Linked DNA regions of Homo sapiens: region 1 is linked to region 2. The links are contacts of gene promoters, found by promoter capture Hi-C in blood cells and fetal thymus (Javierre and others, 2016). All regions are on one chromosome and are shown on one strand. The core of a region is centred on a gene start or on the middle of the fragment in contact, and the rest is flanking DNA. Distances in the headings are between cores, read along the strand shown.

Evidence for each region. The method cuts DNA at HindIII sites, captures the fragments that hold promoters and counts their contacts. A CHiCAGO score of 5 or more calls a contact.
Region 1: a contact is called between a fragment that was not itself captured here and the fragment with the promoter of GATA6-AS1 in region 2, in 7 of 17 cell types (naive B cells, naive CD4 T cells, activated CD4 T cells and 4 more). The highest score is 14.0, in naive B cells.

The regions. Positions count from the first base shown.
Region 1 is chr18:20,931,935-20,936,726 of GRCh38, forward strand. No RefSeq gene overlaps it. Among named protein-coding and RNA genes, the nearest start is that of ROCK1, 180 kb to the right of the region's middle. RefSeq lists enhancers at 1,180-1,787, 1,788-2,393, 2,394-3,001, 3,002-3,607, 3,608-4,215 and 3 more. The HindIII fragment of the contact is 5,772 bases long and covers 1-4,792 here.
Region 2 is chr18:22,165,557-22,170,217 of GRCh38, forward strand. GATA6-AS1 (GATA6 antisense RNA 1 (head to head)) reads right to left here and starts at 3,412. Exons shown (of 2, transcript NR_102763.1): 1 at 3,111-3,412; 2 at 1,342-2,827. It overlaps GATA6 (GATA binding protein 6), which reads left to right and starts at 4,033. Exons shown (of 7, transcript NM_005257.6): 1 at 4,033-4,126. RefSeq lists enhancers at 1-58, 1,678-2,181. The HindIII fragment of the contact is 8,900 bases long and covers 1-4,661 here.

The sequences.
Region 1 (4,792 bases), core at 1,378-3,877, 1.2 Mb before region 2:
CAATTGGATATTTGGATAGCTTTGTGGATTTCTTTGGAAACGGGAGTATCTTCATATAAAACCTAGACGGAAACATTCTCAGAAACTCCTTTGTAATGTCTGCATTCACGTCACAGATTTGAACATTCCCTTTCATAGAGCAGGTTTGAAACACTCTTTCCGAAGTATCTGGATGTGGACACTTGGAGCGCTTTGACGCTTACGGTGAAAAGGAAATAACTTCCCATGAAAACTAGACAGAAGCATTCTCACAAACTGGTGTGTGATGTATGTCCTCAGCTAACAGAGTTAAACCTTTCTATTTACAGAGCAGTTTTCAAAGACTCTTTTTGGAGAATCTGCAAGTGGATATCTGGAGATCTTTAAGGATTTCATTGGAAACCGGAATATCTTCAGGTAAAATCTAGACAGAGGCATTCTCAGAAACTTCTTCGTGATGTGCGTCCTCAACTAACAGAGTACAACCTGTCTTTTGATACATCAGTTTGGAAACACTCTTTTTGTAGAATCTGGAAGTGGATATTTCGATAGCTCTAACGATTTTGTTGAAAACGGGAATAGCTTCATATAAAATCTAGGCAGAGGCACTCTCAGAAACTAATTTTGTGAGATCTGCATTCAAGTCACAGAGTTGAACATTCCCTCTCGTAGATCTGGTTTGAAACACTCTTTTTTTGTATCTGGAAGTGGATCTTTGGAGCTCTTTGACGACTTTGGTGAAAAAGGAAATATGTCCCCATAAAAACTACACCAAAGCATTCTCAGAAACTTGTTTGTGTTGTGTGTACTCATCTGACAGAGTTGAACGTTTCTTTTTACACAGCAGTTTTGAAACACTCTTTTTGTAGAATCTGCAAGTGGATAATTGGATGACTTTAAGGATTTCGTTGGAAACGGGACTATATTCATGTAAAATCTACACAGAAGCATTCTCAGAATCTTCTTTGTGATGTGTGTCCTCAACTAACAGAGTTCAACCTTTCTTTTGATACAGCAGTTTGGAAACACTCTTTTTGTAGAATCTTCAAGTGGATATTTGGATAGCTCTAACGATTTCGTTGGAAACGGGAATGTCTTCATATAAAATCTGTACAGAAGCACTCTCAGGAGCTACTTTGTGATATCTGCATTCAGGTCACAGAGTTGAACATTCCCTTTCTTAGAGCACGTTTGAAACACACTTTTTGTAGTATCTGGAAGTGGACATTTGGAGCGCTTTCACGCCTTTGGTGAAAAAGGAAATGTCTTCCCATAAAAACTAGACAGAAGCATTCTAAGAAACTTCTTTGTGATATATGCACTCAACTAACCGAGTTGAACCTTTCTCTTTATAGATCAGTTTGAAATGCTCTTTTTGTGGAATCTGCAAGTGGATATTTGGATAGCTCTGAGGATTTCGTTGGAATCGGGATTACATATAAAATATAGACAGCAGCATTCTCAGAAGCTCCTTGTGATGTTTGCTTTTAAGTCACAGAGTTGAACATTCCCTTCCATAGAGCAGTTTTGAAACACTCTTTCTGTAGTATCTCTAAGTGGACATTTCGAGCGATGTCAGGCCTATGTTGAAAAAGGAAATAACTTCCCATAAAAAGTAGACAGAAGCATTCTCAGAAACTTATTTGTGATGGGTGTCCTCAACTAACAGAGTTGAACGTTTCTTTTGATACAACAGTTTAGAAACACTCTTTTTGTAGTATCTGCAAGCGGATATTTCGATAACTTTGAAGATTTCGTTGGAAACGGGAATATCTTCATATACAATCTAGACAGAGGCACTCTCAGAAACTGCTTTGTGATGTCTGCATTCAAGTCACAGAATTGAACATTCTCTTTCATCGAGCACGTTTGTAACACCGTTTCTGTAGTATCTGGATGTGGACATTTGAGCGCTTTGACGCGTACGGTGACATAGGAAATATCTTCCCTTAAAAACTAGACAGAAGCCTTCTCACAAACTGCTTTGTGATGTATGTCCTCCACTAACAGAGTTGAACCTTTCTATTTACAGGGCAGTTTTGAAAGACTCTTTTTGTAGAATCTGCAAGCGGATATTTGGATACCTTTAAGTAGATTTCATTGGAAACGGAAAAGTCATTCTCAGAAACTTCTTTGTGATATGTGTCCCCACCTAACAGAGTACAACCTGTCTTTGGATACAGCAGTTTGGAAACACTCTTTTTGCAGAATCTGCAAGTGGATATTTGGATAGCTCTGACGATTTCCTTGGAAACGGGAATATCTTCATATAAAATCTAGACAGAAGCACTCTCAGGAGGTACTTTGTGATATCTGCATTCAAGTCACAGAGTTGAACATTCCCTTTCATAGAGCTGGTTTGAAACACTCTTTTTGTTGTATCTGGAAATGGATCTTTGGAGCGCTTTGCCGACTTTGGAGAAAAAGGAAATATCTTCCCATAAAAACTAGACAGAAGCATTCTCAGAAACTTGTTTGTGATGTGTGTACTCAACTGACAGAGTTGAACGTTTCTTTTTACACAGCAGTTTTGAAACACTCTTTTTGTAAAATCTGCAAGTGGATAATTGGATGGCTTTAAGGATTTCCTTGGAAACGGGACTATATTCATGTAAAATCTACACAGAAGCATTCTCAGAAACTTCTTTGTGATGTGTGTCCTTAACTAACAGAGTTCAACCTTTCTTTTGATACAGCAGTTTCGAAACACTCCTTTTGTAGAATATGCAAGTGGATATTTGGATAGCTCTAACGATTTCATAGGAAATGGGAATACCTTCATATAAAATCTAGACAGAGGCACTCTCAGAAACTGCTTTGTGATATCTGCACTCAAGTCACAGAGTTGAACATTCCCTTTCTTAGAGCAGGTTTGAGACACTTTGTAGTATCTGGAAGTGGACATTTTTAGCGCTTTGACGCCTTTGGTGAAAAAGGAAATGTTTTCCCATAAAAACTAGACAGAAGCATTCTAAGAAACTTCTTTGGGATATATGTACTCAACTAACAGAGTTGAACCTTTCTATTTATAGGTCAGTTTTGAGAAGCTCTTGTTGTGGAATCTGCAAGTGGATATTAGGATAGCTCTGAGGATTTCCTTGGAAACGGGATTACATATAAAAAGTAGACAGCAGCATTCTCAGAACCTTCTTTGTGATGTTTGCTTTTAAGTCACAGAGTTGAATATTCCCTTACATAGAGCAGGTTTGAAACACTATTTCTGTAGTATCTGGACATGGACATTTCGAGCGATTTCAGGCCTATGTTGAAAACGGAAATATCTTCCCATAAATACTAGACAGAAGCATTCTCAGAAATTTCTTTGTGATGTGTGTCCTCAACTAACAGAGTTCATCCTTTCTTATGATACAGCAGTTTTGAAACACTCTTTTTGTAGAATATGTAAGTGGATAGTTGGATAGCTCTCATTATTTCATTGGAAACGGGAGTATCAACATAGAAAACCTAGACAGAAAAATTCTCAGAAACTGCTTTATGATGTCTGCATTCACGTCACAGAGTTGATCATTCCCTTTCATAGAGCAGGTTTGAAACACTATTTCTGTAGTATGTGGACATGGACATTTCGAGCGATTTCAGGCCTATGTTGAAAACGGAAATATCTTCCCATAAAAACTAGACAGAAGCATTCTCAGAAATTTCTTTGTGATGTGTGTCCTCAACTAACAGAGTTCATCCTTTCTTATGATACAGCAGTTTGGAAACACTCTTTTTGTAGAATATGTAAGTGGATAGTTGGATAGCTCTCACTATTTCGTTGGAAACGGGAGTATCAACATAGAAAACCTAGACAGAAACATTCTCAGAAACTGCTTTATGATGTCTGCATTCACGTCACAGAGTTGATCATTCCCTTTCATAGAGCAGGTTTGAAACCCTCTTTCCGTAGTATCTGGATGTGGACACTTGGAGCGCTTTGACGCTTACGGTGCAAAAGGAAATATCTTCCCATAAAAACTAGACAGAAGCATTCTCACAAACTGGATTGTGATGTTTGTCCTCAACTAACAGAGTTGAAACTTTCTATTTACAGAGCACTTTTGAAAGACTCTTTTTGGAGAATCTGCAAGTGGATATTTGGAGAGCTTTAAGGATTTCATTGGAAACGGGAATATCTTCATATAAAATCTAGACAGAGGCATTCTCAGAAACTTCTTTGTGATGTGTGTCCTCAACCAACGGAGTACATCCTGTCTTTTGATACAGCAGTTTGGAAACACTCTTTTTGTAGAATCTGCAAGTGGATATTTGGATAGCTCTAACGATTTCGTTGGAAACGGGAATATCTTCATAAAAAATCTAGACAGAAGCACTCTCAGAAACTACTTTGTGATATCGGCATTCAAGTCACAGAGTTGAACATTCCCTTTCATGGAGCAGGTTTGAAACACTCTTTTTGTAGTATCTGGAAGTGGACCTTTGGAGCCCTTTAATGATTTTGGTGAAAAAGGAAATATCTTCCCATAAAAACGAGACAGAAGCATTCTCAGAAACTTGTTTGTGATTTGTGTACTCAACTAACAGAGTTGAACCTTTCTTTTTACAGAGCCGTTTTGAAACACTCTTTTTGTAGAATCTGCAAGTGCATATTTGAATGGCTTTAAGGATTTCGTTGGAAATGGCAATATCTTCATGTAAAACCTACACAGAAGCATTCTCAGAAACTTCTTTGTGATGTGTGTCCTCAACTAACAGAGTTGAACCTTTCTTTTGACAGAGCAGTTTTGAAACACTCTTTTTGTAGGATCTGCAAGTGGATATTTGGATAGCTTAGAGGATTTCCTGGGAAATG
Region 2 (4,661 bases), core at 2,162-4,661:
TACATTAAGTCACGTAAACAGCGCGGAGAGGAATGCCACCGCGGTGACCTTTCGTGCGCCGCCGCCGCTAGCCCACCTCCGCGCCGTGCTGGCGGCCGCCGGCGGCGCACGGGGGTCGGCCGGGGGCTGCGCCGGGCAAGGGGCCTCCGGGCCGGGCCTGGCCTGCGCAACGCGCCGGGCCTCGATTCCGACCGCCCGGGGACCCCGGCGCTGGCTCCGCGCGGTCCTTCCCCGAAGTGGCCGCCGGCGGGAGCCGGCGCTGGGGGTGGGGGCGACCTGCAAGTTTCCGCCGCCACCACCTGACGTTTCTAAAGAGTGTTTTTGGTTTCCCGAGATTTAAACTTAAAGAAAATCACCGCCAGGACTCTGGTCGACGGCCTACCGTGCAGTGCGGCCGCTGAGTGGGGGACACGCCGCCCGGAACCCACCACTGGCCCCAGACGCTGGCAGGGGTGGGGGGCTCTGAGGTGACCCCGGGTCCTTGGGTAAAAGCGTCCCAGAGACGGGAAGAAATATGGTATAAGCGAGAAGGCCTCATAAATCTGGGCTGTTAAAAATCTAAGTTAAAAATATGTTTTAAGTCAGAAATGCATTCTTTTTCCTTATGAAACATCGCCGAAGCAGCCAGTTTTGTGACAGGATCGTAAAATGAGCGTGAGTTTGCGGGGGTGGAGGTGCACGGGGACGCGGGTCCTTGCTGGGTCTCGCCGCTCCTCCGGAAGCGGCGCAAGACTGGGTCCCCAAACACCCTTCCCGTTTGGCAGCCAAGCCCCCGCCCCCTGCCCAATTGGCTGCAGTGTTCTGGGTGGATTCGAATCGCGAATAGTGGTGTGGCGCGGCCGAAATAAATCAACCCTGGGGACAGGCCGCGCCCGGGAGCCAGCCCTCTGTGAGGGTAAGGGGGACGACTTGCCCAGGAGGGGCCGCTCATTGGGTCGAAACAGTCCGGAGAGAACAGTTTCGTTCAAGATTAGCAAATCCCGAAAGAGGAGACATGCGAGGGTGAAAGAAAAAAAAAAAGGAAAGGAAGGAAAAGAAAAAATATATATCCCCACGAAGAAAACAATAACTTTTAAGAGCTGTCCGCGTACTTTGGACACTAGTGGGGGCCTTCTCCCCAGCTCTTGGGTTTCTCCCTAGTTTGGGGTGCACCTCTTCCCTCCAAACTTCCTAATTTGCCGGCCTTCCAGACCAGCTGGGGCGCGCCCAGGAAGCTCCACGCGCGGGTCTGGGGCTCATGGGAGTGGCTTTGAAAACATGCTTGTCTTCCCCAGAGCGGTCCCTAGCGCCAAAGATGCATTGGGGAAAAGGCACATTGGAGACGTCAGGCAGCCTGGTTTTCTGTCTGAATCAACTGTACGAGTTAAACAGTTTTATTTCGAAATTAACCAACATAAACAACAACAACAACAACAACATTCACTACCCATTCCCTCGTTAGGTTGGAAAACCAGTCTGAAAAAATAAATACAATCTGTGACCATGAAAAGGAGCAATCACTTATTTTTCCCATATGTTTTGAACATTATTTTTAAAAATAGATTGGGAATCTGGAGGGTAAAATGCCGGGTCCCTTCCCGAGCCCTTAGAGCCCGAACGTTGTCGAATCGGTCAATGTCCACCCCGCTGCTCACCTCTGTCCCAGCAGCGCCGGGGCCAGCGCGCCCTCCCGCCGCGTCTGCGGAGCTGCGGGAAAAGCAGGTCCCCGGGGGGTATCGAGTGTCCAGGGATATCCACGCAGACATCCTTGTACTTGCAAATACAAAGAAACACACAGGACAGAGATCAGGCTCGCGCCAGGGCTCGATCTCCTCGGGGCTCAGGGTTGGAGGCCGTACACAGCCTGGACACAAACTGAGCCAAAGAGTTTATTTTTAGCAAATAAGATATGAGTTTTTAGAAAATTGCTTCGAATAGCAAATCCGAGAAACATTATTTCAAAACGTTGGAATCAAAGGAAATCAAATGCCCACAACCCATTTCCGTCAGTGCTTACAAATGAGCTTCTGCAAAACCCAGTCCACTTAAACATTTGGTCGGAACTCACGAAAAGAACCAAAAGCAAGGCATTCCGAGTCCTGGCGGGGGTTGAGCGGCCGGGCGGACGCCTGGCTATCTCTTCTGGGAGTCGCGCATTCGATCGCATTCAGGTTAAAATTTAAAGCCCCTGGATCCTGCTCCAGTCGCCAGCCTCTCCATTCCAGAGTTTTCTACCTTCAGCCTTTTCCAAATGCGGCCACGCTGAAACTGGGAGCCGCCGCAGTGATTGGGGGAGGCAAAGTGGAACGTAATAAAAGTGACTAAATTGGATGAGAACGGTTTCTGGACCTTCTCGGTAGCAATTTAAAATTCAGAAGTGTTTAGAAGCAATTTACAACGAAGAATGAAAAACGAAGAATTCTCGCCAACTTCCTGAATTCCTTGCCCCCTCCCCCGCACTGCCAGGCCCTGTCCCGCTCCCCCAGGAGCCACAAGTTCACAACTCACAGTTACGTGCAGAGGAAACAACGCTTAGCTACGAGGTCTCACCATCTCTGGAAACCATACTTTACAAGGCACCTCTCCACCCCAGTTCAACTCTGCACAGGCTCCTCTTCCTTCCCTAACTGGGAAAACACGAAAATAGAAACAAAACAAAAAACCAGAGCCTAAACGCTTTCTAGGAGACCGACCTTCAGAAAATCATTTACTTGGATTTACCTGGGCGGGGGGTAGGGGGTGGGGTCGGGGTAAAGTATAAAAATTCATTCTCACAAAAACAACGCCTCTTGTCCTAAAGTCTCCCTCGGCAGCCTTCTGGGGTCACGTCTGTCGGAAGAAATCCTTTCTGTAAGCGAAAGGGAGCGAGACATATATCACGGCTCCTGCAGCGGACGAGCCTGCGGCCGCGCGAGTTGCCGCTGACAGATCGGCGCTGATAACCCCGCGACGTTCATTTCCAGTCCCTTTTGCCCGCTAGGGACCGTATCAGTTTGTACAGAGTTGTGATAACTGTTTGGAGGGAGCGAAGAGGGGGTGTGTATATGAACGTGGGGGTGGGGAAGCAGCATTTAGCGCTGGGTCCAGGGAAGGTGACACCCCCTCTTCGCAGTGACTTATCTGTGACTTACCTGAAACTCTCCAGGGAAATATCAGAAACTCTCCAGGGACATCAAAAGTTGGAGAGCGTCCTCGGACACGACTGATGTGGAAGCCCTTTTCCATTCTGCGTACCCCATAGACTACCTTTCCGTACATGACGACCCGAGTTAAAGTTCCCAAAGGTCAGCTGGGGAATGTTGTCTTGAGGTTCCCGAAACCACCACGACCTGAGCCGTAGCATCCCGAGATAGGGTCGGAGAAAGTTTAAGGTCGGTCTCACACAACTTCAGGGCAAAAAGCGCATTTGCTGTGAAGGGGCTAGGCGGGGGTTGGGGGGCGGGGGGGCGCAGAGCACGTTCCCCCTTCCTTCTGGGGGCGTGCTGACCCAAGGTCTGGAGCGCCCCTCCCGCCGCGGCGGCGGCGCGGGACTGTGCACTGCCAACTCCTCCCGTGCCAAGGCTCCCTCCCCCTCCCTCGTGTGGGTGTGTGTGTGCGACTGCGGGAGCGGGAGGGTGCACCGCCGCTGGATGGGTGCGGGTCGCTAGCCAGGTCAGGCGTTCTGTGGCCTCCGCCCCTCCCCCGGGGTCCCTGGGCTCGGTGCCCCCCGGGTGGACTCGCCCCCACTCCGGGGACAGGGCTTGCGGCTCAGCCCACGCCCGCAGGCAGCGCGGCTCTCATTGTCTGCCTGGGCGGCGCGCTCCCCTCCCCCCTCGCCGTCCCCTCCCCACCCTCTTTTCTCTCCTCCCCTCGATCCCTCCTCCTCCTCTTCACCTCCAGCGCCCAGCTGCTCGCTGAGCGCAGTTCCGACCCACAGCCTGGCACCCTTCGGCGAGCGCTGTTTGTTTAGGGCTCGGTGAGTCCAATCAGGAGCCCAGGCTGCAGTTTTCCGGCAGAGCAGTAAGAGGCGCCTCCTCTCTCCTTTTTATTCACCAGCAGCGCGGCGCAGACCCCGGACTCGCGCTCGCCCGCTGGCGCCCTCGGCTTCTCTCCGCGCCTGGGAGCACCCTCCGCCGCGGCCGTTCTCCATGCGCAGCGCCCGCCCGAGGTTCGGCTGCTTCCTCCTCGCGCGATCTCCCCGCTTTCCTCCCCTCCACCCCTACTCGTCGCGGGCCCCTGGCCTCCGGCTCTCCGGCCCTCTCCAGGCCGCGGTCGGCTCCGACGGTGTTTCCCTCCTTCCCTCCGGGCGGGCTGAGGCGGCTCCCAGGCTCCCGGGACACCGCGGACCAACTTCTAGTCTCTTTTTCTCTCCTCGAAGCGCTTATCTGCGCGCAGCCTTATCTCCGAGTTATCTCGGCGCAAAGGGGCGGGAGCCGGTAGTTAGGCAGGCAGAGAAACTTCTTTCTTGCTATCTAGCCAGGTCTGTGTGTGGGCATTAATTTTAGTGTGGTAATCTCCGATGAGCCGAGGCGATTTGGAAGAGCAGCCTGGAGGAGGCCAGCCCGGCTGCATTTCACCTCCCTCCCCCACTCGCTCCGAGTCTCCCTGTCATTCTTCCTGCTCTCCCATTTGGGGTCGCCTCGGCTCTGGGGCGGTCTCACGCTCCCCCCTCCCCAGCCCGTTGCGTTCCCCCTCCTTTTCTC